Linked DNA regions of Homo sapiens: region 2 is linked to region 1. Evidence: promoter capture Hi-C in human tissues and cell types (Jung and others, 2019). All regions are on one chromosome and are shown on one strand. Each heading gives the region's core, a stretch centred on a gene start or on the middle of the fragment in contact. The rest is flanking DNA. Distances are from core to core; before and after follow the strand shown.

The links. Contacts are between HindIII fragments. The study calls those that stand out against the background at their distance.
Region 2: a contact is called between a fragment that was not itself captured here and the fragment with the promoter of CA7 in region 1, in 5 of the 25 tissues and cell types used here (adrenal gland, dorsolateral prefrontal cortex, heart left ventricle and 2 more).

Annotation. Positions count from the first base shown.
Region 1 is chr16:66,841,473-66,846,236 of GRCh38, forward strand. CA7 (carbonic anhydrase 7) reads left to right here and starts at 2,942. Exons shown (of 7, transcript NM_005182.3): 1 at 2,942-3,055. The coding sequence starts at 3,016. LOC124903699 (a long non-coding RNA gene) reads right to left here. Exons shown (of 4, transcript XR_007065088.1): 4 at 1-350. RefSeq lists an enhancer at 2,870-3,371. The HindIII fragment of the contact is 13,624 bases long and covers 1-4,764 here.
Region 2 is chr16:67,045,413-67,050,522 of GRCh38, forward strand. All of the region lies in intron 3 of CBFB (core-binding factor subunit beta), which reads left to right. Among named protein-coding and RNA genes, the nearest start is that of CBFB, 19 kb to the left of the region's middle. The HindIII fragment of the contact is 7,078 bases long and covers 1-4,897 here.

The DNA.
Region 1 (4,764 bases), core at 1,692-4,191:
TAAAGAGGTAATACATGCCTTAATTCATTCAAGAGATACAAAGGAGTACCAGTAAAGAGTGTCCTTCCCACGCCATACCACACCCTTCCACAACCTTCCACAACCTTCCGGTGTCCAGTCTCCTCCCTGTAGGTAAACACTCTCCCTAGCTTCTCCTAAGTCCTTTTAGAGAGGACTTGCATACACACACAAATGAGAGTCAAATTTAAAATCCGCTTCCTCCCTTTCCAGTGATTTTGGACAATATTGAACGAGGGACCCAGCAGCCCTGGGTTTTCATCTTTGTTCAGTCACTCACTGTGCATCTTCGAGCCCATCACTCATCCTCTCTTGAGCTTTGCTTTTCTCATCTGTAAAATGGGGTAAAAATCCCCCCAGGGTTACTATGTAGATGAAGTTGGATGCAAAACTATATGAAGAATTCCAATTGTATCTTTTTTTTTTTTGACACAGAATCTCACTCTGTAGCCCAAGCTGGAGTGCAGTGGTGCAATCTTGGCTCGCTGCAACCTCCGCCTCCTGGACTCAAGCAATTCTCATGCCTCAGCCTCCCGAGTAGCTGGGACTACAGGCACCTGCCACCATGCCTGGCTAATTTTTTGTATTTTAGTGGAGACGGGATGTCACCATGTTGCCCAGGATGGTCTTCAACTTCTGAGCTCAGGTAATCCGCCCGCCTCAGCCTCCCAAAGTGCTGGGATTACAGGCATGAGCTACTGTGCCAGGCCCAGTTGTATCTTTTAAGAACTACAAATAAATATGAAAAAGACCTGAGTCCCTCTGAAGAGGAAATGGGTCAATGGAGTTTGGGCTATCCCCAGAGCTCTCTCCCAGGTAAAGGATGTTGGCAGCTCTCCCAGGTAAAGGGTGGCTGGCTTCTCTGGGAGACAGAAGGTCCAGGCCTCACCCAGAAGCATGCCTTTGTCTTCTTGATCTGTAGATGCCATTTCCAGCTTGGAGACCTGGGGCCTTGACAGTGTTGGATTCTCTGTCACATCTGGTCTTGGGGGCTACTTATCTCTGTCATAAGTCCCCTGCCCCACCCTAGGGTCATATTTATATTAAGGATCCCTTCCTGCTCCTGGATCAGAGAGGGCCATCTTCGCAGGCCTGGGCAGTCACTGACATTGGCCCACCCAACCAGTTATCAATTAATCTCCATAGCTCTATCTGAGGATCTGGGGTTCAGGGCCTGGGAGAGGGAAACTGAGACAGACACAGAGATGAAGGGGAGCCAGGCAGACAAGATGGCAGATTCCTGTACAAGGTCAGCCAAGAGCAGGGCCTGAAAGAGTGTCTCTATTCAAGATCTGGACAGCAGACATTGTACTAGTGGCTGTTCGACTCCTGCTGAGTACAGGACCCCGGGTGGGATCATTTATCTGTCCTTCCATCCACCCCTCTGTTTGTCTTTCCAAAACTGCCTGCTGAGGACTAGCCAGAGACAAGCCCTCTCCCTGGCACAAGGCCACGTGCTAAGATGAATCAGATTGGGCCGGCTGGAGCCAGTGGGTGGAAGACAGAGGACGCACCAGGTGGAGGGCACAACAACGACCAGGGCTCGTGGGTGGGAAAATACTGGGCCAAGGCAGGCACTGGGGTTGAGTGCAGGGTGGAGGGTCTGAGCTCCCAGGGGGTGTACTGAAGGTTATGGGGAGGTCAGGAGAGGAGGGACAAACAGCAGGCTATGGAGGGACAAAGCAGAGTCCCTGAAGAAAGGAGGAAGCAGTAGACAAAATAACAGGGAGGGTGGAAGTCAGAGCCTCAGACTTAGCTCCATGGGGAAGCCACCTGGTGTCTGCCTGTCTTCAGGCCCATTGGTTGATGCCACTCCTTCTCACTCCCCCTTGGGGGATCTGGTTCCACCTGGGCCAAGGGTTCACATTGCCATTCCTGTCCCTGCATCTACCCCAGGGTTCCCGGACCCCCACACTCACAGCACACCCTTGTACCCAGCACCAAGGAGAAATGGTAAAGACCCCAGTGTCAGGCCAGGAGTGGTGGCTCACTCCTCTAATCCCAACACTTTGGGAGGCCAAGGCGGGTGGATTACTTGAGGCCAGAAGTTCAAGACCAGCCCAGGCAACATGGTGAAACCCCCATCTCTACAAAAAACACAAAAATTAGCTGGATGTGGTGGCACACACCTGTAATCCCAGCTACTTGGAAGGCTGAAGCAGAAGAATCACTTGAATCAAGGAGGTGGAGGTTGCAGTGAGCTGATATAGCACCAGCCTGGGTGACAGAGCAAGACTCTGTCTAAAAACAAACAAGCAAACAAACAAACAAACAAACAAATCCCACAAAACCCCCAGTGTCTGGAGTAAGAACCCCAGCTAATGAACCCTTTACCCCCTGGCTAGATGACCTTGGGCAAGTCACTTCACTTCTCTGGGCCTCACTCCCCTCCTCTGTCAGATAGGGCTGATGGAAGCACCCAACCTTGTAGGGTAACAGAGAGGGTTATACCATAGGAAGGACCCAAAGCTTGGTCCAGCGCCTGCAACAGCCTCTGGCAAACAGTGGAAGCTCCAGTTTTGGACACTTGATGGTCAGTGTAGTTTGCAGTTTAAAGGGGACTTTCCAACCCCAAAAGATTCAGGACCCAGAGCTCAGGTCTCTGGTGGTGGCATTTGCAGGTCTGGGGCAAGCCTAGGGAAGGGACGCCATGTGCGGCACGGGCATCTAGTGTCCCAGAGTCCGCACGGGTTGCTGGGGGAAAAAGAGGGATAGTCGCCCAGCCAGGGCAGGGGTGGGAGTTGGGGGGAGAGGGTTACTTCCTCCTGCCCTGAATCTCCGCTCGGGGTTCAACTGGCTCGCCGGCGGGCGAGGGCGGGGCAGGCCGGCCTCTCTGGCCCTGCTGGGGGGTGGGGGGCGGGTCCCCCGGGAACTGCTCCTCCCGCCAGCCGCTGCTTTAAGAGGCTGCTCCGCGGTAGCGAGCGGGGCCGGAGCCGCAGCCCGAACGAGCGGACCGAGCCGACCGGGCAGGTGCACGGCTGCGGGGACGGCAGCGGCATGACCGGCCACCACGGCTGGGGCTACGGCCAGGACGACGGTAGGCACAGACCTCCCCCACCGCCTCTGGCTCGGACCCCCGACCCAACTGCACTCGCCCCAACCCTCTTGCCCAGCTGGTTTCCCAGACCGGAAAGCTCCCACACTCCAGGCTGGGCGGGACCCCTCTTCCCATCCCGGCCCCCGAACTTGGCCCAAGCCTTGGTCCCCCGCGCCAGACGCAAAGTCCGCGCTGCGCCCCGGGTGGCCCCGCCGCCAGCAAGCGACCTGGCGGCTGTGTCCTGCCGCCTCCTCCGCGAAGCCCCTGATTGCCCAGCCCGCTCAGACCCAGGCCCAGACTCTCACTCACTCGCCCCGGGCGTGCGCAGCGCGTGGGGGTGGCCCAGGGCAGCGGGGGGCGGGCGCCGCGGAGCGCTGTGCGCGGGTGTCTGCGGGGAGCGCGCACGGCAAGTGAGCGGGGACCTCGGGGGAGCGGGGCTCCGCGTGGCAAGGGCGCAGTGTCCCCCGGAGAGAATTTCCCCGCAGAAGTGGCCGAGCTGCCTTCTCGGCCGGTACGTGAGGGAAGGGGGCACTTGGGGGCGCAAGCATGTGTCTGGGTGTCTACACCGAGCAGGGTGTTTGCGCACGTCCGGGTGTGAGTCGTGGGAGCCCGTGGCCCACACCAGCCTCCTGGGCTGACGCGGAAGAGAGCTCCTTCATCCTGCCTCAGTTTCCTTAGGACTCAGAGAAAGGGAGAAGAGGCAGAAGGTGAGAGCCAGACGGCTGGAGTGTGGGTCTGGGGCAGTCAATTCCCTTTGGGGCCATTTCTTACCAAGCAGGGGTGGGGGTGTGGGGTAAGGGGTTCCCTATTTCCCTGGGGAGCCAGTGCAAGACAGGTGGGGTGCGGAGAAGAAAAAGTAATGATGGGAGGAACATCCCCCAGCCCCACTCCTCTGCGGAGAGGCAGTCACTTTGTGAGGTTGGGTGGGGGACCACAGTCTGGGAAGCCAGAAAGTTGCAGTAGACCAGAGGGAGGGTGCTGTGGAGTCTTTGGCTCCCTCTGGGGCCCCAAGAACAAAGGAGCATATTTTGGAAGAGAACCCCCAGATCTGGGTATGCAAGAGCTGGAAAGAGACATTCAGAAAAAGATGATATAGACAAGCAGAGAGGGAGAGACAGGCAGACATGGGGCAGATGGACAGGACCCATAGGGATCATCTTCTCCCAGCACCTGCTCTGAGCCACCTTTTGGGTGCTTCCCCCAGAGCCAGAGTCCCCTGCCTCCAGCTCTTCTTGCTAGTCATGCCCACCAGCTCTGAGCACCCAGTGTCCTGTGTAGCCTGCTCCATGGGCCTGCTCCCCCAAAGCAGCCACCCCATCACCCAGGCAGAGCTGGATTGTCCAGTCGAGGAAGGGAAGGACAGAGGACAGAGGTGCCGGCATGCAGCAGTGTTCACAGGGCTTCAAAAATAACCCAGAGGGGCCGGGCCACGATTCTGAGTCATCCATTGGGGACACGGCTCTGTCGGCACCTGCTGCTGTTTTCTCAGGAAAACTTAAGAAGCCAAAAAGGGGGAGAAGCACCAGCCGGCAGTAGCTCTAAAAATAGGCTGCATCTCAGGATGTTCCCCAGGGAGATGCTGAGCCTCTCGGCTGCAGATGGATCCTCTGGGAGGCAGGTGGTGGGCGCCTGTGGGTGTGTATGCAGGTGTGTGTGTGTGTGTGTGTGTGTGTGTGCATGGGCATGTGTTTTGCTGTGGTCCTTTATGC
Region 2 (5,110 bases), core at 109-2,608, 200 kb after region 1:
AGACTGAGGCAGGAGAATTGCTTGAACCCGGGAGGCGGAGGTTGCAGTGGGCTGAGATTGTACCACAACACTCCAGCCTGGGCAACAGAGCAAGACTCTGTCTGAAAAAAAAAAAATTAAAATGTTTTAAAATTAGTATGTCATAGTACCTTCCAGTTAGAGTACGTGAATCTGCATACATGGTAAATGCACCTCTGAAGCACTTGAAGATTGTGAAGTCCCGTTTTCTCTTCTTTTGGATTGCATTATTTCCATTTTAGTGTAAAGGTGAAATTCTCTTTCATGACCTTTCCTGAATTACATATTCCAAGTGAGAGAAGGCAGAAATAATATGTCTGAGAAGAGCATCCTTCACTCTTCCCCTCCTTCCTTCTACTTTCTACATTTTTTTTTTTTTTTTTGAGACAGTGTCTTGCTCTGTCATCCAGGCTGGAGTGCAGTGATGTAATCTTGGCTCACTGCAACCTCCGCCTCCCAGGTTCAAGCGATTCTCCTGCCTCAGCCTCCCAAGTAGCTGGGATTACAGGCACCCGCCACCACACCTGGCTAATTTTTGTGTTTTTATTGGAGATGGGGTTTCACCATTTTGGCCAGGCTGGTCTCAAACTCCTGACCTCAGGTGATCCGCCTGTCTTGGCCTCCCAAAGTGTTGGGATTATAGGCGCTCTGAGCCACTGTGCCTGGCCTTTTTTGTTGTTGTTTGTTTGTTTTTGAAACTAGATATCTCTCTGTCACCCAGGCTGGAGTGCAGTGGTGTGATCTTGGCTTACTGCAACCTCTGCCTCCTGGGCTCAAGCGATCCTCCCACCTCAGCCTCCCAAGTAGCTGGAACCACAGGCACGCGCCACCATGCCCAGGTAATTTTTTTGTAGATATGGGGGTCTCACCATGTTGCCCAGGCTGGTCTCAAACTCCTGGACTCAAGCAATCCTCTCGCCTTGGCCTCTCAAAGTGCTGGGATTACAGGCATGTACCCATCATTTTTTTTTAATGGTTAATTCAAATGCTGCCAGGATAAAGACTATTGAAATGTTGTTGTCTGAAGATGTTAATTTCTTTGTAGCACTGCTATGCCCTAGTTTTACTATTTCCCATTTTCACTTGTAGTTTTTCAATCAGCATTATTGAGGTATAATTTACATGTAGTACAGTTCACCTATTTTAAGTGTACAAGTCTGTGACAACTGTGTATTCAGTAGTATAACCACCACCAAAGTTCACCATTGCTTCAAAAAGTTCCCTCATGCCCCCTTGCAGGTAGTGTTCTAATTGATGCAGACATACATGCACTGATACTTTTGTGATCCTCATCTTACAGGGAAGAAAACGTTTGTAATTTCTTTTTAACAGCATAAAAATGCTGTTTACCTTCAGGTGCAGAGACTTTGTTTCTTCAATATTATTCTTTGATGCTTAGTTTTGTACAGAGGATTGGAAGCTACAGACAAGCTAAAGTATAATAGTGATATGGTAGACTTTAATTATTGTTCCTTTTTTTATGAAAGTATGCACGTGAACAGTTGGAAAGTATTATCTGTTATAAGCTTTTCAGTTTAAGCTGGGCCTCCTCAAATTGATGTGTGTTTAGGAACTAAGAATTTTAAATAACATTTGAAGGGCCGGGCGCAGTAGCTCATACCTGTAATCCCAGCACTTTAGGAGGCCAAGGCAGGCAGATCACAAGGTCAGGAGTTCAAGACCAGCTTGGCCAACATAGTGAAACCCCGTCTCTACTAAAAAAAAAAAAAAATTAGCCAGGCATAAGCTGAGATCATGCCACTGCACTGTAGCCTGGGCAACACAGCAAGACTCTGTCTCAATAAATAAATACCATTTGAAATGTCTTCAATGCCATGTGTGGAAACTATTTAAAAAAATAAAACGTGCCTCTTGGCAGTATTGCTGTGCTTTCAGGACTCTAATGCAGGCTGTACCTAAGAGGGAAAGGGCTGAGTCTGGGGATGGTTGGCAGGTTGTTTTTGTGGATGAAAAACCTTTTACCCATGTATGCAGTCAGTACTGAGCCTTTTTGTGTTTTAAAACTTCAGATGTAAAGACAGGTTAATCTTCAGATTAAAACAAAAGGATGGCCTAGAAACTTGTGACTTCGACATTTACATTAGAAGAATGTAGATGTTTTCAAATAAACAAATCTGCCCATATCATAGATGTTCAAAGTTTGTTCCATATAATAACAATGATAGTTTCTAATAATCGTGTGGCCCTGTTTGCAGAACAGTGTTCTAAGTAATGAGCCATTTGGGAGAACCCTTTAAATTTTTTTTTTAGGATATTTATTCACACCAGCTTTTTAGTCCTGAGTTTCTATCCATCCCTTTGCTATCCAGAACATTTCTTGGCCATTTTTTTACTGGGTCAGGTGCCGTGGCTCGTGCCTTTGGTCCCAGTGCTCTGGAAGGCCAGGGCGGGTGGATCGCCTGGGGTTAGGAGTTCAAGACTAGCGTGGCCAGCATGGTGAAGCCCCGTCTCTACTAGGAATGCAAAAATTGGCTGGGCATGGTGGTGGGTGCCTCTGGTCCCAGCTGCTCGGGAGGCTAAGGCAGGAGAATCACTTGAACCTGGGAGGCAGAGGGTGCAGTGAGCCAAGATCGCGCCACTGCACTCCAGCCTGGGAACAAAATTCCATCTCAAAAAAAATAAAAATAAAAATGCAGAAATTGGTCAGGCGTGGTGTCGCATGCCTCTGGTTCCAGCTACTTGAGAGAGGCTGGGGTGGGAGAGTTGCTTGGGCCTGGGAGGCAAAGGTTGCAGTGAGCAGAGATCGCACCACGGCACTCCAGCCTGGGTGACAGAGCAAGGCTCCATCTCCAAACAAACAAATAACAAAAAAAACCCCTAAAACATTTTTTATTTTCCTTAAATGTATTGGCCAAGGTTAAAATATCCATCCTGAATATTCTGTATGAAAACATTGGATATGAAGAAAAAAAGAAAATTCAGGCAGTTGACCAGGGGAGAGAATTGAGCTTTTTGGTTCTTCCTGACACATATTCTCAGTGAGACTATACTCACTTTTTTAAAAGCTATTTATAAAATATTAAAATAAGATATTACATGAAGTTAAAAATTGAAACGAAAGTCAGCATCTTAATTCACCAATTACACAACTGAATGGTGTTTTTTGTTTGTTTGTTTGAGACAGAGTCTCGCTCTGTTGTCGAGGCTGGAGTGCAGTGGCATGATCTCAGCTCACTGCAAGCTCTGCCTCCCGGGTTCATGCCATTCTACTGCCTCAGCCTCCCGAGTAGCTGGGACTACAGGAGCCCGCCACCACGCCTGGCTAATTTTTTTGTATTTTTTTAGTAGAGACGGGTTTTCACCATGTTAGCCAGGATGGTCTCGATCTCTTGACCTTGTGAGCCACCGTGTCTAGCCTTTTTTTTTTTTTTCTTTTTTTTTTTTTTGAGATGGAGTTTCACTCTTGTTGTCCAGACTGGAGTGCAATGGCGCCATCTCAGCTCACCACGACCTCCACCTCCCGGGTTCATGCAATTCCCTACCTCAGCCTCCCGAGTAGCTGGGATTACAGGCATGTGCCACCATGCTTGGCTAATTTTTTGTATTTTTAGTAGAGACAGGGTTTCTCCATGTTGGTCAGGCTAGTTTTGAACTCCTCATCTCAGGTGATCTACCCACCTCGGCCTCATAAAGTGCTGGGATTACAGGTGTGAGCCACCGCGCCTGGCCACTGAGTGGTTTTTAATATATTCACAACCATCACCATTATGTAATTTGTGAGTATTTCAGAACTCTGAACCATTTTATTTATTTTTTATTTATTTACTTATTTTGAGACAGAGTCTCTTGTCTGCCAGGCTGGAGTGCAGTGGCGCAATCTCGGCACACTGCAACCTCCGCCTCCCGGATTCAAGCTATTCTCCTGCCTCAGCCTCCTGAGTAGCTGGGATTACAGGAGCCTGCCACCACACCCGGCTGATTTTTGTACTTTTAGTAGAGACGGTTTCACCATGTTGGCCAGGCTGGTCTCGAACTCCTGACCTCAGGTGATCTGCCCACCTTGGCCTCCCAAAGTGCTGGTATTATAAGCGTGAGCCACCGCGCCCGGCCCCATTCTGTTTATTTTTGAGACAGACTCTGTCTCCCAAGCTGGAATGCAATGGCACAACCATGGCTCACTGCAGCTTCAACCTCCCAGGCTCAAGCGATTCTTCCACCTCACTGGGACTGTAGGCACATGCCACCGCACCAGCTGTTTTTTTTTGTTTTACTTTTTGTAGAGATGGGGTCTCACTATGTTGCTTAGGGTGGTCTCGAACTCCTGGCTGGGTTCAAGTGATCCTTCCACTTTGGCCTCCCATGAACCATTTTAAATGCTTTTTGAGAACTGCAAAGCAGTTTTTATGGTGATCACTACCACCGGACACTGTGCTAGATGGTTTACATTATCACTAATTCTCCTAATACTGCACTGTATAGAAGAACTGTTTAATTTTAGAACATATCTGGTGATAGCTTGATTTTACAGCTGAGGAAACTGAGGCCAGGAGGCTAAGTTAACCTTCAAAAGTCGTATTATCTGTTTCCTGGTACAGCCAGGACCCAGACCCACTTATTTTTTACCCCTAAGTCTGTTCTTTGCATACTACACTACTGCTAATAAGTAATCATTAGGTAAGTTGATGCAAACTCCACATACCACCTTCCAAAGCCTTATTTAGAGTTATTTTGGTCCACCAAGTTACTCTACTGATATATATATATCATAAATATATCATATATAAATTATATGTGATATATATAATATATGTTATATATATAATTTATATATCACATATTTATATGTAATATATATCACATAAATTATATATAATATATAAATATATAATATATAAATTATATGTCAATATATATAGCATTATGTTCTAAGACACACACATATATATGTATATATAACGTTCTAAGACTTTCAGGGATTCCTGTACTGTTGATAGTACCAAATCCTATATATGTGCTGTTTTTTTCCTATACAGATATACATATATACGTATGATAAAGTTTAGTTTATAAATTAGGCACAGTAAGAGATTAACAACCTTAACTAATAATAAAGTAGAACGTGGCCGGGCAA